5 separate regions of the Homo sapiens genome follow, and all the other regions are linked to region 2. The links are contacts of gene promoters, found by promoter capture Hi-C in blood cells and fetal thymus (Javierre and others, 2016). All regions are on one chromosome and are shown on one strand. The core of a region is centred on a gene start or on the middle of the fragment in contact, and the rest is flanking DNA. Distances in the headings are between cores, read along the strand shown. Region 1 overlaps ME1 (malic enzyme 1). Region 2 holds the start of CYB5R4 (cytochrome b5 reductase 4). Region 3 overlaps DOP1A (DOP1 leucine zipper like protein A). Region 4 overlaps DOP1A (DOP1 leucine zipper like protein A). Region 5 holds the start of LOC124901494 (a long non-coding RNA gene).

Region 1 (3,608 bases), core at 381-2,880, 650 kb after region 2:
GTTGGTCAAAAGGGAAATTAAGGTCATTTTCTCTGAGTAGTTGAAATTTTCTCCCATGATGTGATATGATGATGTGATTCTCCAGTGAGTGATGAGAGTCAAATGGAAGCTTGAAGATGGGGGAAGGTTTGGAATTGCTTTTTGGGAACCACAAGAGGAAGTTTTAAGTAAAGAGAGAAAAAAGTATAATGTGCAGACTAGAAAAAAAATATAGCACCACAGAAAGTTTACTGCATCGTTCTAGGATGCACAGCCACAAAAGGAGAAAGCCAGCTCTGAGGGGTCCCCAGACGAGGGACTAGAATTATGCATGAAACACAGGGCGTGATGACCAGAGAATCTGTGACGCTGGCAAAGAGTGCTCATCCTGACTGTGGTGTCTAGATGATTAGCTGAGCAAGATCAGGAGACCCTGGGGTACAGGAAGAGATTTTGTAGGAGGCTGTGGTGAGAATAGGGATTCTTGAAAATTCAAGGTTCAAGTTTAGCAGGACTATTTAGGTATTTATTTCAAGTTAATTGTCAGTCAGGTCATGTCAAGACTTTGAACACTGGCTTCTCTGAGAAATCCAGATGTGATAGTACTTGAATCAGTCTCACCTGGTCACACTTTCCTTAGTTGCTGATGTCATTTTTCTCTCTCACTATATGATTTATAATTGCATTTTCATTTTATATCTTCATTGCTTATATGTGCTTTTATTATAATACACTTAATGTTTTTGCAAACATAGGATACAGTGTTTTTGAAATGGATAAAAACTTCCACTCACATGGGCTCATGATTACCTCTATTTATTAAAATAATTAATATTCTTTTCTTATATCTAGATTGTGAAAGATGCATACCAAGAAAAGACAGCCACAGTTTATCCTGAACCGCAAAACAAAGAAGCATTTGTCCGCTCCCAGATGTATAGTACTGATTATGACCAGATTCTACCTGATTGTTATTCTTGGCCTGAAGAGGTGCAGAAAATACAGACCAAAGTTGACCAGTAGGATAATAGCAAACATTTCTAACTCTATTAATGAGGTCTTTAAACCTTTCATAATTTTTAAAGGTTGGAATCTTTTATAATGATTCATAAGACACTTAGATTAAGATTTTACTTTAACAGTCTAAAAATTGATAGAAGAATATCGATATAAATTGGGATAAACATCACATGAGACAATTTTGCTTCACTTTGCCTTCTGGTTATTTATGGTTTCTGTCTGAATTATTCTGCCTACGTTCTCTTTAAAAGCTGTTGTACGTACTACGGAGAAACTCATCATTTTTATACAGGACACTAATGGGAAGACCAAAATTACTAATAAATTGACATAACCAACATTAAAACTCATAATTATTTTGTTGACCATTTTGTTAAAATCTACTTTTCAAAAAAAAAAAGCTAGAAATGAATCTAGGCGTAGGTGAACTTTTGCTAAGCAGAAATAACACTACTTTGTTGCCTAGAGAAAGATAACTTCTCAAGTATTTTTATTCCAGTCCTAGATCATATATGTTCTTTTGTGCAACGGAATTCTAACAGTTCTAAGAGAAAGATCACTGCTGTTTACAGCGCCTTGTGCAGCCTTAGATTTTAATATTCTTTTGTCATTGTTACATCTCATAGAGTAAAGCTCTTATTACCTTGATCCTGAGTCAGAAATCCCACCTGAAATCACCTTTTTTCCCCCTTGATCAAACATCCCATCCTTCAGCTACCATACTGTTGCTACAGGGATTTTGTGGACTGTGGCCCCTGTCCCGAGGTTGGCACCTTCAGTTCAGCACAGCCTGAGCAGTGAGAAGGTCTGAAAGGAGAGTATATAGTTAAGATCCTTGAGAAAGGGCTGCCTGAGGAACTGACCTCTTAAAGATCTCAGGATCTTTAAGACAACAAGTTAGGTTCCTACTGGAGTTACCTGCCAGAATGGCCTCTTAATTAACTCAGGTAATGAAGAGCTAACTGTGTTATAATCATCTTGCTTTTGCCTGAATTTGGAGAAAGTATTATAATTAAGTTCCCAGTATCAGAAATGTCCTTACATAAGATTAAAATATCTTGATGACTAATACCATTCTATGAGAAAGAGTAGTTATATGCCCAGACTGTATTAATTTACTTTAGAAACTAATGTTTGAAGTAATGGAAAAAATTTTAAATTATAAAGCTAAGGTGCAATAACATTTGCTACTTATTTATAGAATTATTTGAAGAATTTTGTTTTTGAAGTAATGCTTTAAGGAGTATAAGATATTCAAGATAAATTATACTATAAAATGATTTTATTGAAAGTTGAAGGTTACACAAATTGTTTTAGGTATGAGCAGAAGAGGTTAAGGTATTTCTAAAGGTAACATATAGTCAAGAGTTTCCTCAAAATAGTTATTTGGAGAAGAATCAGAATGTCTGTGTATTTCTTGTCTGTTTCTATGTTGTCTTATAGCTCTGACTAAATGTGTTTACCTATGCAAAAGATTTATTAAAGCATAGAAAAGGTGAATGAATAAAAATATAAAATAATTGTCCTTTTTCTTAAAATGTTACATTGTAATGCTTGGTCTTGGGGTCATATGATTATGTGTGACGAATTTCTAAAATATTCTAATAACTGCTAATTTCAGTATAAACATCATTCATTTAAAACATATGTGGCTGGGCACAGTGGCTCACGCCTGTAATCCTGGCACTTTGGGAGGCTGAGACAGGCAGATCACCTGAGGTCAGGAGTTCAAGACTAGCCTGGCCAACCTGGTGAAACCCTATCTCTACTAAAAACTATAAAAATTAGCTGGGCTTGGTGGCTCATGCCTGTAATCCCAGCTACTTGGGAGGCTGAGGCACGAGAATCGCTTGCACTGGACGTTGCAGTGAACCAAGATCATGCCACTGCACTCCAGCCTGGGGGATGGAGTAAGACTCTGTCTCAGAAAAAAAAAAATATATATATGTAATCACATATTCTGGACACTGTGATGTGTGAGCCACTTCCTTGTCCTCAGGGAAAGATAATGAAATAAGCATTAGATAGTTACTTACTAGGTGTCAAGTATCCCACATACATTATTTTAATGTAGTCCCCTCACTTTCCTTATGAAGTTGATATTTTAAGTAACTTGCCAAGTCCACAGAATAACTGAAGAAAGTAAGCTTTACATCCATATTCATCTTTCTTTATAGTTTGTTCTCCTTTCCATAGGCTACAGTCTAGAACAGCACTGTCCCATGTGTAATTTTAAATTTTGTAGTAGCATCATAAAAAAAAGACACAGGTGGAATTCATGGTAATAATATATTTTGTTTAAACCAATATATCCAAAATATTACCACTGCAACATGTAATCATCATAAAATTATTAAGATAGTTTATTTTGTTCATATTTTCTTCGAAATCCAGCACATATTTTACACTTACATTTTAATTCAGTTCAGACTAGCCACAGGTCTCAGTAGCCACATCTGGCGAGTGACACTGTATTGGACAGTGCAGGTTTAGAAGAGACAGTTATATACCAATAGCTGTAAAACTGCATCTCCATGAGAGAAGTGAAGTAGAAGTCTGAGGGAAATGTTTACTCAAAAATATTTTGGTAAATAATGCCTCAATAAAGT
Region 2 (3,700 bases), core at 1,153-3,652:
GGAAACAGACTCAAAGAGATTAACTGGCAGATATGGTGAAAGAATCTAGGTCTTTCTCACTTCAAAATCTGTGCCTTTAAAAAATTACAATAAGCCTTCACTTAAGCTAGTCACTAGGTGCTTGGAAACTAAACTATGTACAACGAAACTAATTTTACCGTGGGTTAATTGACAAACAAAATTTCCTGCAGCATATTTCTGGTCACAAAAACATCACCAGACTTCTAAATAAAGACCAAAATACTTCTAATATTAAACACTGAAAGAAATGTTAGCTATATATACATTTAAGAAAGATTAATTAAAAAACAAGTAAGATAATTATTTACCCAACTATTCCAGTTCAATGTCACAGGTAGTCAGAGCCTATCCCAGTAGCTCAGGGCACAAGGCAGGAACCGACCTTGGACAGGATGCCATCCTATGGCAAGGCACACTCATACACACCCAATATTCACACAGACTGGGACCATTTAGACACACCAATTAACCTAACTTGCATATCTTTGGGCTGTAGCAGGAAACCAGAGTACCCAGAGAAAACCCACGCAGACACAGAGCATGCAAACTCCAAAGACAGTGGCCCTGGCCAAAACGAATTTTTTTTCTCATCAATATTATAACTAAATGCTGTTGAATGAAACAACACTATTTGAGAACCTTTTGTATAATACACGACCTTCCCAACTTGGTTCTATTTTCTCAACCTCTACCCATTTCATCCAAACCTGACTCAGTTTTTACATTCTCAGCATCATCTTGTTTCACAAAGAAAAGAGGAAGAAGACTGGAGTCTGACTTTTCCTTAGAATTGCACAATAATCTTATTTTGTTCTCTTTTTGGACCAAAAACTCACCTTTGCCATCGCCCCCTGTGTGACTTTTTGTCTTTGCTTCTAAGTTTTCTCCTTTAAATGGATGCTAAGAACACAGTTGGTATTTTTAACGAAGAAGGGCAGTAACTCATATTCTAATTCAGAGATTCTTTCTGGAAAGACTGTTATTCAGTCAAGTATTTAGCTTCAAGAAATAGGTCAAAAACCAATGAGAAAAATATACATGATTGGATGGCTAGATGATTGATATATGAATCAGTAAATGAAATTTCACAGCAGAACCACAACACAAGCCTACGCAATTTAGGGCAATATTTCTTAGCCAGTTTCCTTTTCTGCGAAATAGAGACAATAAAAGCTTTCACTTCAAAGGATAATTGTGAAAATTAAAGTTAATACATGCAAAGCACTGAGAATATACACGGCCACCCGTAAGTACTTAAGAAATCTCTGGAAAGCTAATGAAAACCACAGATCCCTGAACCTATATTCATTCTGAACTAGAATCAGAACGCCAGGTCTAAGTGGAGAAAAATAAGAAAATCGATAAGGGTTCCAAACGATGCTAAGACTCAAGAGTTAACCGAGTGGCCCAAGTTAAGTGGAAGTGTCACAAACGAAAGATAAAGATATGGTTACAGAATGAGGAACTAACAAATAGGAACAAACAACATTCGCAAAAGAACAAAGAACACAATTTTTATTGAATTCTGCAAATATAAAATATATCTGTACAGTATTCCACCTGTTGCTAACAGCAACTGTGCTCAACAAGAACTCAAGAGTATTATTATATTTGCTTCGAAGTTAGCAAGTGATACTAGTAGAAAAGGCAATGACAAAACAATCAGGTACCAGAGGAAGAAAGAAAGGCAGTATGTCTTGGATAGTGTCTGTAAACCTGACCTAGCTCCCCAACTCCAGAAGTCCCCATCCTTGCACGGACGGTCACTGTCGCCACTGCCAAGCCTTTCCCTCCTGCGAGGGAACCCACATCGAGTGATGTGGTACAACTCCTTCAGGCAGTGAAGAACAAAAGACCAGGGAGAAGATGAGGTTGAGGGAAGGCGGCTAATACCGAGAGCCTATAATACCGCAAACACAGTGCCTGGCTCTGTCATATAAATTTAAATCGCGGGAAAGGACTTGGAGGAAGGGAACGGATAGAGCGGGATAAAGGACCAGAAAGAAGAGGGACTGCTAGGGGAAAGGGAGGAGGTAAGGAGAGTTTAGGGACTGTAGACAAAGTGGGATCAGAAAGAGGTTGCAGGCAAGGACAGCAGGGAACGACAGCTTAGAGAGGGGTGCAGGAGCTGGGAGTTGGGGCGGAAGAAGAGAACACACTGCCAGAGCTCGAAACGCAGCGAGGGGAGAGACTCACGGAGCCACCCGCTTACCTTGCTACGCCCCCCGGAGGCGACACGCTGCTGCGACCTGGGGGCCGGGAAAGACTGGGAAGGGACGTTCAGCATCTTCAAACCCCGGCCCCGGGCCCTGCCCGGGGATCGCCGCCAGACGGGACAGCACCTCCAGCTCCGGCTCTGTGGCCGGGCAGAGGCCAAGCCCCCGACCCACTTCCGGGGTCGCCAGGGGTGAGGCGCATTCTGACGCAGCACGTCCGCGGAGGGCGGAGCCAACGGGACGGAGGGAGGGCCGGCAGGGAGGAAGTACGCATGCTCAGCTAGTTCCGCATCCCGAACTTCAGCACCGGAGCAAGGTGACAGCTATTTCGTGGAAAGATTAGAGAGTGAAGCTGTTCCTTAGCCTTGGTGCTGACCGAATGTGGGAACAAATTCTTAGTCCTGTTAACCCGGAACAGCAATGTCTGTTCATTGTTAAGCAGTACCATCACACTACTTGAAATATGGACTAAAACACACTACTTGAAATATGGACTAAAACGAATTTTAGTTTCTCTGAAATTCTTTCCTGTAAGGCACTAGGCTGTAATGCAAAGAGCATCTCACACCTTTAAGAGCAAAAATATCAAATGTCAACAGCCACTACTGTGGGGTAAGAAGAAAACCTCACCTTTAATCATCCTTAAACTTCACCTTTAAGCATGCTGAGGGCTAATGAATGCGCGAAAGACGTTAGTAAAGTCACCTTCTGCTCTATTCACCCACTCACAAATTCTCCCTCCTTATGTAACTTCCTGTCTTCACTGGGAATTGTGTACTGATGCAGCTCACCTCCAGCTGTGGTGATGAAGTAACGTTTAAAAGTCAGATTTGGTTTGCATGCCATCCCTGCACTTAATGACTGAGCTGTCTTATGCAAGTTACTTTAGTATCTCAAAGTCTCATTTTCCCCATCTGCATAATGGGTTTATTAAAGATTAAAGGATCATGTGTAAACTACATACTGCAGTGCCTGATTAATATTAGGTACTGAATAAGTGGCAGTGGCTGTTTGTGCTATTCCAACATATTAATGGGAAAAGGACCAACACTGTGCAGGTAAACACCAGGCTCTAATGCTCAAAATCTGATGGTTTTTGTTTGTTTGATTGATTGTTTTGTGTGTCCCTTGGGGAACACATAGATCTTGAGAGTAGAATCCAATAAGGGAGAAAGTTTTCAGGAGAAGAAACATAGTTCTAAATAATCCTCCCCATCCTCCTTTAATTACTAATTTTTCCTAACTCTGAACATATTGTCATGCTTTAAACTTTCTCTGTTTAACTACTTAGTTCTTAAAGTGCCTAAAAAATCAAGGTTATGTTTGCAGAATCAGAAGAAAAAGTGTGTGACTATATGTGGCCATTCAAATACAAGCATTCAAATAAGGTAGCCACCTATGACATTCACCTCTATCCATTTTTATTTGCAATTGAAATGCTTATTATGAGAAGACTGAATTTG
Region 3 (3,675 bases), core at 167-2,666, 690 kb after region 2:
AATACGTTTCCCAGCCTCTGATGGAGAAGGAACACCATTCTGATACCAGAACATGGTTAATAAGGAAAAGAGAAAAATCCCCAACCAATCTTAATTGAACCAAGTCTGAAACCAATGGAAAAAAAAAATGGGTAGTGTATATTTTGCAGGTTTAAGACAACTCAGGACAATAAAAACAATGGACTTTACATGTGTATATATATAGCTCTCTTAGGCACCATAATCAGTATGAGCCAACAATATTTAAACTTGATTCAGGCCACATTCAGACATTTGCTCTTATATACAAATATTTAAATTAAATACAATCTGAAATGTGTTCTGTTACATACAAAAAAGGAAAAACTATACAACGCAGAGCAGTGTGTGTGTTTTAAATAATTACATTTACATGTAAGCTAAATGGAACCAGCAATGGTGCTCAAGTTTTTATCATCCCTTCCAGAAAATCTTTTTCTACCATCTCTTCTATTTTTTGCCTGGCTTTGCTGGAACATGGTTTGTGGTTCTCCAGTTTCATGTCCTTATTAGGGAAGGCATTTGAGTAGAGGATAGGACTCCCTGAGTGTCCTCCACATCGGCTTGTGACTTTGCTGTTGAAGACTTGACTGAGCACATTGAAGAACGGCAGGAGCTGCTCCATACTGCGCACGGTGCAGATGGTGAGCAGCAAGTGCCCTGGCTCCCAACCCAATGTTCTCCCTGAGTTGTCTTCCTCTGGATTTTTCTGCAGAAAACAAAAAGTGAACTGGTATTAATACAACAGACAATGTGGTATGTTAGAAAAATTAAAAATATATAAACTTTGGCAATTGGTCAAGAAATGAATACAAATGACATTAAGTTTCTAACTCCTGACCTGATCAAAACCCTTGGTGCTTCTGAGACCTTTTACTGCCATTTATTAGTTTTACATGGAGCAGTCTAACATTGTAGTAATAGTTCCCAACTAGAATGCGCAGATAAGCTTAGTTAACAGAAATAGCTTTGAACAGGAATAGAGTCAAACATAAAAGTTTTATGTTGTGCTTTGTATTTACTCAAAAAGCTCCCAGGTTTCTGAACCCTCACTACTGTAACCAAGGACTAGGTCACAAAATTACTACAGAAAAAAGGAACAAAGTGCTTTATACATTTCATAATATATCCCCTTTTATTATAATTAGTTAATTCCCTTTTATCTAAATGGCCTAAATTTGCCATGATGGTAGCAGTGTCCAAAGTGAATAATTACTGTCAGTACTGCATCACAGAGAAAGGAAGGGATCCCTCAGGAGACACTGCTGTCTCCTTCTGGGTTGTGCTAAACAACATAGGGAGGAAAGCTGGACCTGGAGTCAAAGGAATTGAGTTAGTGTGCTGGCTCTGCCATACTTACGGCACCCTTGGGCAGGATATACAAAGGTTCCTCACTTATAAAATGGGACAGTCTAAAACTACCTTTTAGTAGAGAAGTCAAATGAGAAGGTATGTGAAAACTCTGTCAACTAAATATAAAGACTAATAATTTGGGTATTAAGAGGCTAGTTTGAGAAGCCACCTGAATTACACAAACACAGCTACAGACATCATTCTGTCTAGAGAAAGATAAGAGAGAACAGGTTGGTTGAACTTGGGCAGAATCACAGATACAATTCCACACTAAAGAATGAAAATAAGCAATGAACTAGACAGAAGGAAGAAATCATGAAGACTTAGGAAGCAGAATTACAATCTGTCATATTAACAAATGGAGTTTGCCTTCTAAGATCAGATGTTGCTCAGAAACTTTCATTGTTTACCTAATAATTTAATATCACTAGTTTCCTAGTGGGTCAAGCAGATGCAAAATCCAGCTTATTTTCTTCTATGTGCTCTCAAGCTTATTGCTTATTTTAAAGTAAAATCCTGAAAAAGGAAAATATTAGGTTGGTGCAAACGTAATTGCGGTTTTTGCATTGTTGAAATTTGCCGTTTTATATTGGAGTACATTCTTAAATAAATGTGGTTATGTTATACATCATTTTAAGCATATTTCTCACTTTTTTTTTGCTAATGACTTATTGCTGTTTATATTTATTTTAGACTATGGAAATGATGTTAGACAAAAATCAAATTTAGCGATTTTCTGAGTTCAAAATAGGTTATAAAGCAGCAGAGACAACACACAACATCAACAATGCATTTGGCCCAGGAACTGCTAATGAACATACAGTGCCGTGATGGCTCAAGAAGTTTTGCAAAGGAGACTAGAGCCTTGAAGATGAGGAGTGCAGTGGCCAGTCATCGGAAATTGATAATGACCAATTGAGAACATCATCGAAGCTGATCCTCTTACAACTATAAGAGAGCTGCCCAAGAACTCAATGTTGACCATTTTATGGTCGTTCGGCATTTGAAGCAAATTGAAAAGGTGAAAAAGCTCAATAAATGGGTGCCTCATGAGCTGAGTGAAAAATAAAAAAATTCGTTGTTTTGAAGTGTCATTTTCTCTATTCTATGCAACAATAATGAATCATTTCTCTATCGGATTGTGATGTGTGCCAAAAGGTGGATTTTATACGACAACTGGCGATGACCAGCTCAGTGGCTGGACTGAAAGAAGCTCCAAAGCACTTCCCAAAGCCAAACTTGCTCCAAAAAATGGTCATGGTCATTGTTTGGTGGTTTGCTGCCAGTCTGATCCACTACAGCTTTCTGAATCCAGGTGAAACCATTACATCTGATAAGTATGCTCAGCAAATCAATGAGATGCACCAAAAACTGCAATGCCTGCAGCCGGCATTGGCCACCAGAAAGGGCCCAATTCTTTTCACGACAACACTGGGCCGCACGTTGCACAACCAACGCTTCGAAAATTGAACTAATTGGGCTATGAAGTTTTGCCTCATCTGCCATATTCACCTGACCTCTTGCCAACAAACTACCACTTCTTTAGGCATCTCAGCAACGTTTTGCAGGGAAATTGCTTCCACAACTAGCAGGACACAGAAAATGCTTTCCAAGAGTTCGTCAAATTTGGAAGCATGGATTTTTATGCTACAGGAGTAAACAAACTTATTTCTCATTGGCAAAAATGTGTTGATTGTAATGGTTCCTATTTTAATTAATAAAGATTTGTGTGAACCTAGTTATAATGACTTAAAATTCATGGTCCCAAACAGCAATTACTTTTGCACCAAACTAAAAATATAAGTTAAAATGGAAGAGTCTAGGAGCAAACCAAGAAAAGATCACCTACTTCATCATCTCTGGTCAAAAACAAACCAAAAAACTTAACAGCTATCACTTAAGTTTGCTTCCTAGCAATTATTTAGCTTCCAGTCTAGATTACAGGATATATAAAACTTTCTTTCTTTCTTTCTTAACTATGACACTGGCACCAATGAGAGTCCTGTGACTGACTTTCACATTTCCACCATTACTCAATTACTGGTACCATACCACCTCTAATCCCCTAAATCAAACTGCAATTCAACAATAAAGGGCGTACAGAGATGACTTTGTCCTGAAGGAAAATGAATATCCTTGTACCCTCTATATAGCTAACTTCCAAATGTAAGAGAACTATGGGGTAACCTTTTGTTTCTATTCCTATCAAGATGAGCCTTTAAGAGAGGGACTTTTATTAAGCTCTTGACCAAGAAGAATACACTTGATTCAGAGTTTCTGATGCTCTTAATCAGAACTATATGT
Region 4 (3,882 bases), core at 347-2,846, 770 kb after region 2:
GTTTCTTTTCCTGTCTACAGCCTAAAGTCTACCCCCCGAATCTCTCATGGTCTAAAACTAAAACTAAAACTAAAACTAAAATTAAAACCCATAGCCTTTCCTTGACCCCCACAGGCTCTCTGGCTGCCAACCCATTTCTTTATTCTCTCATAGCAAAACCTGAAAGATTTCTCTATATTTGCTATTTTTTCCTTATCTTTTATTCACTCTTCAGACTCCGTGAAATGCCTATGGGACTGTCCCTCCAGGAAAAAAACCCGTATAAAAATCACCCATAATGTGCTTTAACCAAAGCCAAAGGTCACTTCTGTAGCCCCTCATTTTATTCAACTCAGCAGTATTCAATACCTTGTTTTTGGCTTCCGGGACTCTTCCCTCTCAAGGTTTGTTATCTCTTAGCCTCTTTTTTTCAGTTTATGTTGGCTTCTCTTTTCTATTCAATTTTAAATGCTGAGGTACAGCTGAGTCTTGAAAAACATGCAATTTGAGTTGCATGGGTCCGTTTCTTCGTGGATTTTCTTCCACTTCTACTACCTACCCAAGACAGCAAGACCAACCTCTCTTCTTTCTCCTCCTCTTCCTCTGCCCACTCACAGTGAAGACAATGAGGTTCATGAAGATCTTTGTGATGATCCACTTCCACTTAATGAACAGTACATATATTTTCTCTTATGGTTTTCTTACTATTTTCTTTTCTCTAGCTTATTTCATTATAAGAATACAGCATATTATACATATAACCTACAAATGTGTTAATCAACCATTTATGTTACCAGTAAGGCTTCCAGTCTATAGTAGGCTATTAGTAAAGTTTTTGGGGAGTCAAAAATTATACGTGGATTTTCGATTCATGGGTCAGCCTTACTTCAAGGTTCAATCAGGAACCCTCCTCTCTTCTTTCCCTTTAGGTTATCTCCTATAGTCCTATAGCTCCAATAGCATCTGTTAACTGATGTGTCCTAAATCTATACCTGCCACTTTTCCTCTTCTATTATTCTAACCAGTTATAGCCCACTCCAGCACACCACTGATTCCTGCTTCTATTCTTGAGAGTCTGCATAATTCATCCTCCACAGAGAAGCCAGAGACACATTATGTCATTCCTTTGCCTAAAACCTGTCAATGGCGATAGAGCGAGACTCTGTCTCAAAATAACATAACATAACATAACATAACATAACATAACATAACATAACATAACATAACATAAAATACCGCAAAAAACCCATCAATGGTTTTCCTCAAAGCTTGTCCTGGTCACCTTCTAGTCTTAATTATTCTCTAAGGATAAGACCTCTTCTGATACAGCAGAAACAGCAACATCTTAGCTATACCCTAAATACAAATATTCCAATACAAAGCTTAGAATAATATCCAAACTCAAATACACCAATTTTTTTTGCATTCTAGGCATTTTGTTCTTGCTATTCTCTACATTTAAAATCTCTTTGGTCAACTCTATGTGACAGATTTCTTCCCGTCCTCCAGTAATATCAAACCCTACCAAAAGTTCTTTCTGATCAGTCTAAGTAGCCTGCCTGGGGCCAAACTCTTACCACATACCCTATAACATCACATTATTTCCTTATTAGCATTTGTTACACTTTGAAATTTTCCTATTTATTTGCTTGTTTCCTGTCTATCATCTCTCAATGGGATGCAAATACTATGAAGTCAATAGCCTTATCTTAGTTGTTCATACCTGCATCGGCAGTCCCATAATAGTGGCTGATAAACAGTAGGGCCTCAAATATAATCTGAATAAATGAACTAATCTATCAACGACAATATAGTTAAACCATTTTCGTTTGTTTTTTCTGAGAAAAGCTTTGTAGAAGAAAAATAAAAAGCAGAACTACAGTTCTATTTCTTAACTAGTATAGTCACACTTGACCTTACTCTCCTCAAATACAGAATACATTCACATGGCTATTAAGTGCTTTAAAAAACAGATTGCCTAAGAACATTTATAAAAATGTGTACATTCCAGTTACACTTTTAAAAAACTGGCTCAGTTTAATCTGTATTAAACATAACTATCTAAATGTGAAGGAAGTCATTCCAGCCCTGTGAAAGGAGATTTAAAAAATCCTATTTAGGCTGGGTGCAGTGGCTCATGCTTGTAATCCCAGCACTTTGGGAGGCCAAGGCAGGCAGATCACTTGAGGCCAGGAGTTCGAGACCAGCCTGGCCAACATGGTGAAACCATCTCTACTAAAAAAAAAAAAAAATACAAAAATTAGCCAGGTGTGGTGGTGCGTGCCTGTAATCCCAGCCTCTTGGGTGGCTGAGGCACAAGAATCGCTTGAACCCAGGAGGTAGAGGCTGCAGTGAGCCAAAATGGTGCCACTGTACTCCAGCCTGGGCTACAAAGCAAGACTCTGTCTCAAAAAAAACAAAACAAAACAAAAAAAACAAACTACTTAGGTATGATACTCCCAGACGTCGAAGTCAAATCTTTTCAAATTAATTAGCTGCAAATCTCAAGCTGGAGAAAAATTTGGAAAAAGTTTTATTATACTTTATGTACTTATTTATAGTCATGCATTGCTTGATGGGAATATGTTCTGAGATGTGTTGTTGGGTGATTTAGTTATTGTGTGAACATTCATAGAACATGCTTAAACAGACATAATGGTAAACCCTACTACACATCCTGGCTATATGGTATAACCTATTGCTCCTAGGCTGCAAACCTGTACAGCATGTTATATATTGAATACTGTAGGTAACTGTAACACAACAGTAAGTATTTGTGTACCTAAAAATAGAAAAGTACAGTAAAATACAGTATTAAAACCTTACGGGACCACTGTTACATAGGTGGGCCATCATTGAAATGTTATACAGCATATGACTATTTATATTTTCACTTTAGGTCTCAGAAAAGCTATACGAATAAAAACCTAAGACACAAGAGGTTTAAAAGCCCATAGATCTGCCAAGGTGACAGTGAAGCTGATTTAACTTTACGATTTCTTTTTTTACCAAGTAAATATACACAAAATTATATACGTTATTAAAAATTGTCTCTGAATGCTATAAAATCAGATTCTTTCTCATTTCAAATTCTGTGATTTCTGGTACACATAGCAATATGAAAATATTAATTTTAGAAAATACAAAACATAAGCACCATTTATAACTTGGAATGAGCCATTAGCAGGTAGGTGGGATTCTACTTTAAGCTTCAAATGGCAAACAGCCATAATAATAAACACTTAAGCACATACCCTTGAGTTACAAAGGATCATCCTGTCTCCAAAGCATAGTAGCCAAATAAACATTGTCCACGTATTACTCAAGATGATGATAATAATCACAGTTGATACTGACTTACAAATTACTCTGTGCCAGGCACTATACTAAGCCCTTTCATGTGAATTATCTCATGTATCTTCACAATACATCCATGAGGTAGATATACACATGAATCCATGTTCATATAAGGCAATTAGTGTTCAAGGTGCCACAGAGAATAAAAGGAAGAACCAGGAAGAACTCTGGCAGACTGACTCCTGGAATTGGCCCTTAATCAGTATCTTTCTGAACTTTTTTTTTTTTTTTTAAACCACAAGTCTTAATTCTCCTGCATGACATATTCTACCTCTCCTCTCTCATTAACTTTTTTCAAAAAACTTTTCCGGCTATATAGATTTCTTTCTTAGAAATTGTACTTAAAAAAAAACTATAATAATGTAAATACATATGTTATTCTTCCTAGACCTTGAATGAAGCACAGGGACCAAAGCTCAACTCAAAATACCCCAAGTGGTTCACCACTCAATACTGATAGTGTTTAAAATATAAGGCAAAAATGATCATGATTCTGATACAGAAGTTTTTATTTTTGGTTGTTATCTATAAAAGAGTGGGTTTTTG
Region 5 (3,966 bases), core at 165-2,664, 910 kb before region 2:
TTGGGAACTTGACTGGGAAATATCCCTTAGCTGGCCAGGGCTTGAGGATACTTGGCATTTTTGTTTGTCGGTTGGTTCGTTTGTTCCATTAAAATTCTGAGGTTTAGACAGAAATTCATAAAATAAAATCTGGGGTTATCTCACACTCAAGCGCAAAGAACATTTACGTTAATATTCCTTTCAGGTCCCTCCTCCTAATTACCTTTTATTTTTAATTGTTTCCCTCCATCCATGTGGTTGCTCGCTTTTCCAGATGGCTTCATATTTTTGTAAACGGTTGGGAGACTTAGTCTATCTCGTGGAGGTTCGGCGCACAGAGGCCAGTGCCTTCTTTAGGTCGCTTCTGAGCGACTCGAGACGGCCTCCCTCGAATCCGCAGCAAAGAGCAACAGACAGGGCTTCCCTTTCAGTCTGGGTTGCCATGGGGCACAGCTCCTGCTCCGGCCCAGAGTGCCAGAGTCTCCCAGGGCTGCTGCCTTCAGCCAGGTGGAGGGGTCAGCGCGGAGCCAGGTACAGAGCTCCTCCGAGCCTGAGACGGCGGGAGGTGCTGGGCTAGGCTGCGCCTCCCCAGGCAGGACGCCAGGCAGTGCGGCGGACGGTCCCCAGAGGGCGCCACGTGCCCCCGCCCGGTGCCCGGCGGCGCTCACCCGCCCGCAGCCCGGCGAGTCCAGCGGAACCTAATTGCCCATGAACCCCTTTCTGCGGGGTCTGGAGAGGGGGAGCAGGCCGGGGCCCGAAAACCCCCCATCCCACCCCTAAATCTGGGCGGACTGTGAACAGCCACACAGTGGGACAGTTAAGTGTCTCTGCCAAGCTCGGTCCTTCCCTCACCGGGATATATTATCCCGCCACCATCCGGCAGGCCGGCCGGGGATTATTATCCCCGTTGTAACGCAGAGGAAGTTATGGCCGGGACGCGGTCAGGGTCACGAAATAAAAACATGTGGACCCACGGCGCGAGCTGAGCTCTGCCGGCCTACCCCGCCCCCGAATCCTGTAGAGCCAGGCGAGGCCGAGGCCCTAGGCCCAAGGCCGGGGCGTATTCGGGTTTACGTCTGCGGGAGAAAGAGGTGGGTGGTGCGGCTGGCGAAGTCAGTGAGGGACCGGAGACAGCCGGGCCTGGAGAGAGCCGGGACCGGAGAGTCGGGGCGCGGGCGCCGCGGAGGCTCGGAGCCGCAAGGAGGCCCAGGCTCCCCGGGACGCGGCCACTGTACCTCCATAGCCAAAGCGGCGGGCGCCCAAGGCCAGAGCGCTACCGACGAGAAAGTCGGGGCCGCGCCGCCCGGGAACTAGAGCTCCTCGCGGGGACTTTTAAGTTTTCACTCACTAGGCTCTGAACCTATTTTTAAAAAGCAATTCTTTATTCAGATATGTAGAAGACTATGAATGACAGCTCCTTCTCCCCAACACCATTCCCGCCGGAGCTGCCCAGGTACTCCACACCTACCGCCTGAAGCGAATCTGCGGGCGCACGCACGCACGCCCGTCGCGCGCAGTCTCCGGGTTGGCCTCGCCTCATAGGCTGCCGGTGCAGTGCGGGAGCGCAGCCCGGGACACCGTTTGCGCGGTGGTGCGGTCTTATAGGTTCCAGGGTTTCTGAGGCTTTTGGTGAGCATTACGAGTTCCCCTTAGAGGAGTCAGGCGCCTTGCGGGGCTAGTGGCATGTGGTGGCTGTGGCTGCGCGCCCTTCTCGGCCGGCGCTCGGAGGCGCAGGCGCGGCGCGGACGCCCACACTAAGCTATAACCCTTGACGGGCTCTGAAACGCAGGCAGCTGAGAGGCGTTTTCGAGACAGCCGCCCCGGGAGATGATGTATTTATTCTTCGCACTTACTGTGCACTTAGCACCGAGAGGGCCGTACTTTGCACTTATCAACAGAAACCCGCGTTCCGCGCTCCCTGACTCCCCGTGGCCGCCGAGTGACGTGCTGCCGCCGCTGGCGCGGTTCTTGGGCCTGGGCTTTCCAACAGGTGGAGAGAGCTGGAAGCGACCGGTCGGACCAGCCCCGCTTAGCCTGACACCCACGCCTCGGGGGTTCGGGGGCGCGGCCGGCCAGGTCTTTCCAGGGAAGGGGGCGCGGGCTGGGCTGGAGCCGGGATTCCGGAGCGGGGGCTTACACTGGAAAGTGAATGCGCAGGCGGCCTCAGAACTCCAAGAAGCCGCGTTGTAGAGCTTCCCTAGGCGCCTTCTTTGATCTCTCTTAAAAAGGGTATCATTGTTAATCGCTGAGACGAATCTCCTTTTCTAGTGACTTAAGCAATCAGAGGGACTCGTCTGGGATCCAGATAAGTTGGGAATTGTTTCGCCTTCCTCAGTGCTTCCCACCCAAGTTTGCCTCCCAAGTCTTTTTTGATTTTACACACACACACACACACACACACACACACACACACCCCACTGGAGAATTCTCGATGATGAATTAATTAGGAGGTCGCTCCTGCGTGGGCTTGCCTTTCTCTCCCAACACGCCCTTTCCCCAGAAGACTCCGAACCCCTGGCGGAGTCCGATTCCTGCCCGGGCTCCCGCGGCGGAGCCCCGCTCTCGGACTGGGCGAACCCAGAGGCAGCTGAGTGCACCTCCGAGCGCTCAGCTTCCCGACGCCACCGCGACGCTGATTTATGGTCCAGTCGCTCGCTTGAACCCCAACGCTTTGGCTGGGTTAATTTTTGTCGATTGTTCCTCATCACACTCAGATAGTTTGTAGCTTGAGACGGATTTTATTTATCACCCTGCACATGTGAAATACAGTCAGACATAAAAATAACTGACTCTGGGACTCTGGCACAATATTGGAGCCGTCGGGGAATAATTTGGCTAAGCGATTTAGACGTTTCACCTTCTAAACAGAAATGCAACTCTCAGTCAAACTGTAAATCAGATTGTCTTCGGCAATGTAAAAAAAAAAAAAAAAGAAGAAAAGAAAAGAAAAAGCACCAAAACCAGAAAGAACGAAAACTAAATGAAAGAAAACGCAGATATTGTCCAAAACAATATGAGCTTCAGAAACCCAGACTGGATTTTAATTTCAGCTTTGGAACTTCATCGGAAATACGAATTCCTTAGTATTTTACCAGTGGGAACCGCCCCCAGGGATTTTAGGGTGTCCCCGGAAACTGGACTGACTTCTTTCTTTTTACTTTATTGAGAGTTTTGTTATTAAATAATATCAAGTAATAAATGCTACATAAAAAATTAATAATCCCGAACTAAGCTTACTCTCGGATGGAGTCAGGTTGGGGCCCCCTTACAAAGTTCTAATTATAAGTGGAAACAAGGGGACGGGGACGTGGAATGGCCTGGACAGGGCAGGACAGGAGCTCAAGAAGCAACAAAAACTTGGAAAATAAAAAAATTAGAAATTTCTGCAGCGCTCTCCTTGTTTCCACCTTTCCGAGGCAGATGGAAAAGAAGCTGATAAGTTTTTCTGCGCCTCATTCGTCTCCCACGTCTTTCTGGAAACCCATAATATGAAACGCTCGATTCCTCACTGTCTCACAGAGACCAAGTGATCCAAAGCCTGGCCAGGGGGAGCCCTGGGCAAAGCAGGAACTGGGAAAGAAGAGAAAACCAATACTGGCGACCACTCGATTGATCGCAAAGGGGAAATTCAAAACACAACCAAATAAAACTTCTGCCTGGGTAGGGAACATTTGCTGTAATTTTACATTATTCTCCCCTCAAATCCGTTTCATTCTTCTACAACAAAGTGGAGACCAATCTTGAGTGTTTCCCTATGCCTCCACGATGGAAATCTAAAGATGGTTTTCTTGAAGCGAACTCACAGCGAACTTACCTGTAGGCACCTGCCTACTTTCAGGGTATTTATTTGTTTGAACCCATTTTTGACCAAGACCATTTAGATAACTTGCTTCACAAATTTCTCCAAATAAACTGAAACAAGAGAGCTCTGACTCTTAAAATCTACAAAATTAAATGTAAATTTAAAGATAACAGGGTGCTACAGGT

Evidence for each region. Contacts are between HindIII fragments. The CHiCAGO score rates a contact against its expected background, and 5 or more counts as called.
Region 1: a fragment that was not itself captured here is called in contact with the fragment with the promoter of CYB5R4 in region 2 in 3 of 17 cell types (total CD4 T cells, total B cells and naive B cells); the score reaches 6.1 in total CD4 T cells.
Region 3: a fragment that was not itself captured here is called in contact with the fragment with the promoter of CYB5R4 in region 2 in 1 of 17 cell types (naive B cells); the score reaches 5.5 in naive B cells.
Region 4: a contact is called between a fragment that was not itself captured here and the fragment with the promoter of CYB5R4 in region 2, in 1 of 17 cell types (total B cells). The highest score is 5.8, in total B cells.
Region 5: a contact is called between a fragment that was not itself captured here and the fragment with the promoter of CYB5R4 in region 2, in 3 of 17 cell types (megakaryocytes, erythroblasts and fetal thymus). The highest score is 8.0, in megakaryocytes.

The regions. Positions count from the first base shown.
Region 1 is chr6:83,209,318-83,212,925 of GRCh38, reverse strand. It overlaps ME1 (malic enzyme 1), which reads left to right. Exons shown (of 14, transcript NM_002395.6): 14 at 832-2,524. The coding sequence ends at 1,002. Among named protein-coding and RNA genes, the nearest start is that of RWDD2A, 18 kb to the right of the region's middle. The HindIII fragment of the contact is 3,037 bases long and covers 112-3,148 here.
Region 2 is chr6:83,858,391-83,862,090 of GRCh38, reverse strand. CYB5R4 (cytochrome b5 reductase 4) reads right to left here and starts at 2,402. Exons shown (of 16, transcript NM_016230.4): 1 at 2,234-2,402. The coding sequence starts at 2,308. The region is part of intron 3 of RIPPLY2-CYB5R4 (RIPPLY2-CYB5R4 readthrough); the gene reads right to left. RefSeq lists a silencer at 2,282-2,331. The HindIII fragment of the contact is 3,476 bases long and covers 1,197-3,700 here.
Region 3 is chr6:83,164,914-83,168,588 of GRCh38, reverse strand. It overlaps DOP1A (DOP1 leucine zipper like protein A), which reads right to left. Exons shown (of 39, transcript NM_015018.4): 39 at 118-727. The coding sequence ends at 422. PGM3 (phosphoglucomutase 3) reads left to right here. Exons shown (of 13, transcript NM_015599.3): 13 at 1-3,675. Among named protein-coding and RNA genes, the nearest start is that of PGM3, 27 kb to the left of the region's middle. The HindIII fragment of the contact is 894 bases long and covers 970-1,863 here.
Region 4 is chr6:83,083,107-83,086,988 of GRCh38, reverse strand. All of the region lies in intron 1 of DOP1A (DOP1 leucine zipper like protein A), which reads right to left. Among named protein-coding and RNA genes, the nearest start is that of DOP1A, 17 kb to the right of the region's middle. RefSeq lists an enhancer at 1-145. The HindIII fragment of the contact is 466 bases long and covers 1,364-1,829 here.
Region 5 is chr6:84,771,534-84,775,499 of GRCh38, reverse strand. It overlaps LOC124901494 (a long non-coding RNA gene), which reads right to left and starts at 1,694. Exons shown (of 2, transcript XR_007059927.1): 1 at 1,448-1,694. RefSeq lists a silencer at 534-683 and an enhancer at 1,834-2,448. The HindIII fragment of the contact is 3,598 bases long and covers 1-3,213 here.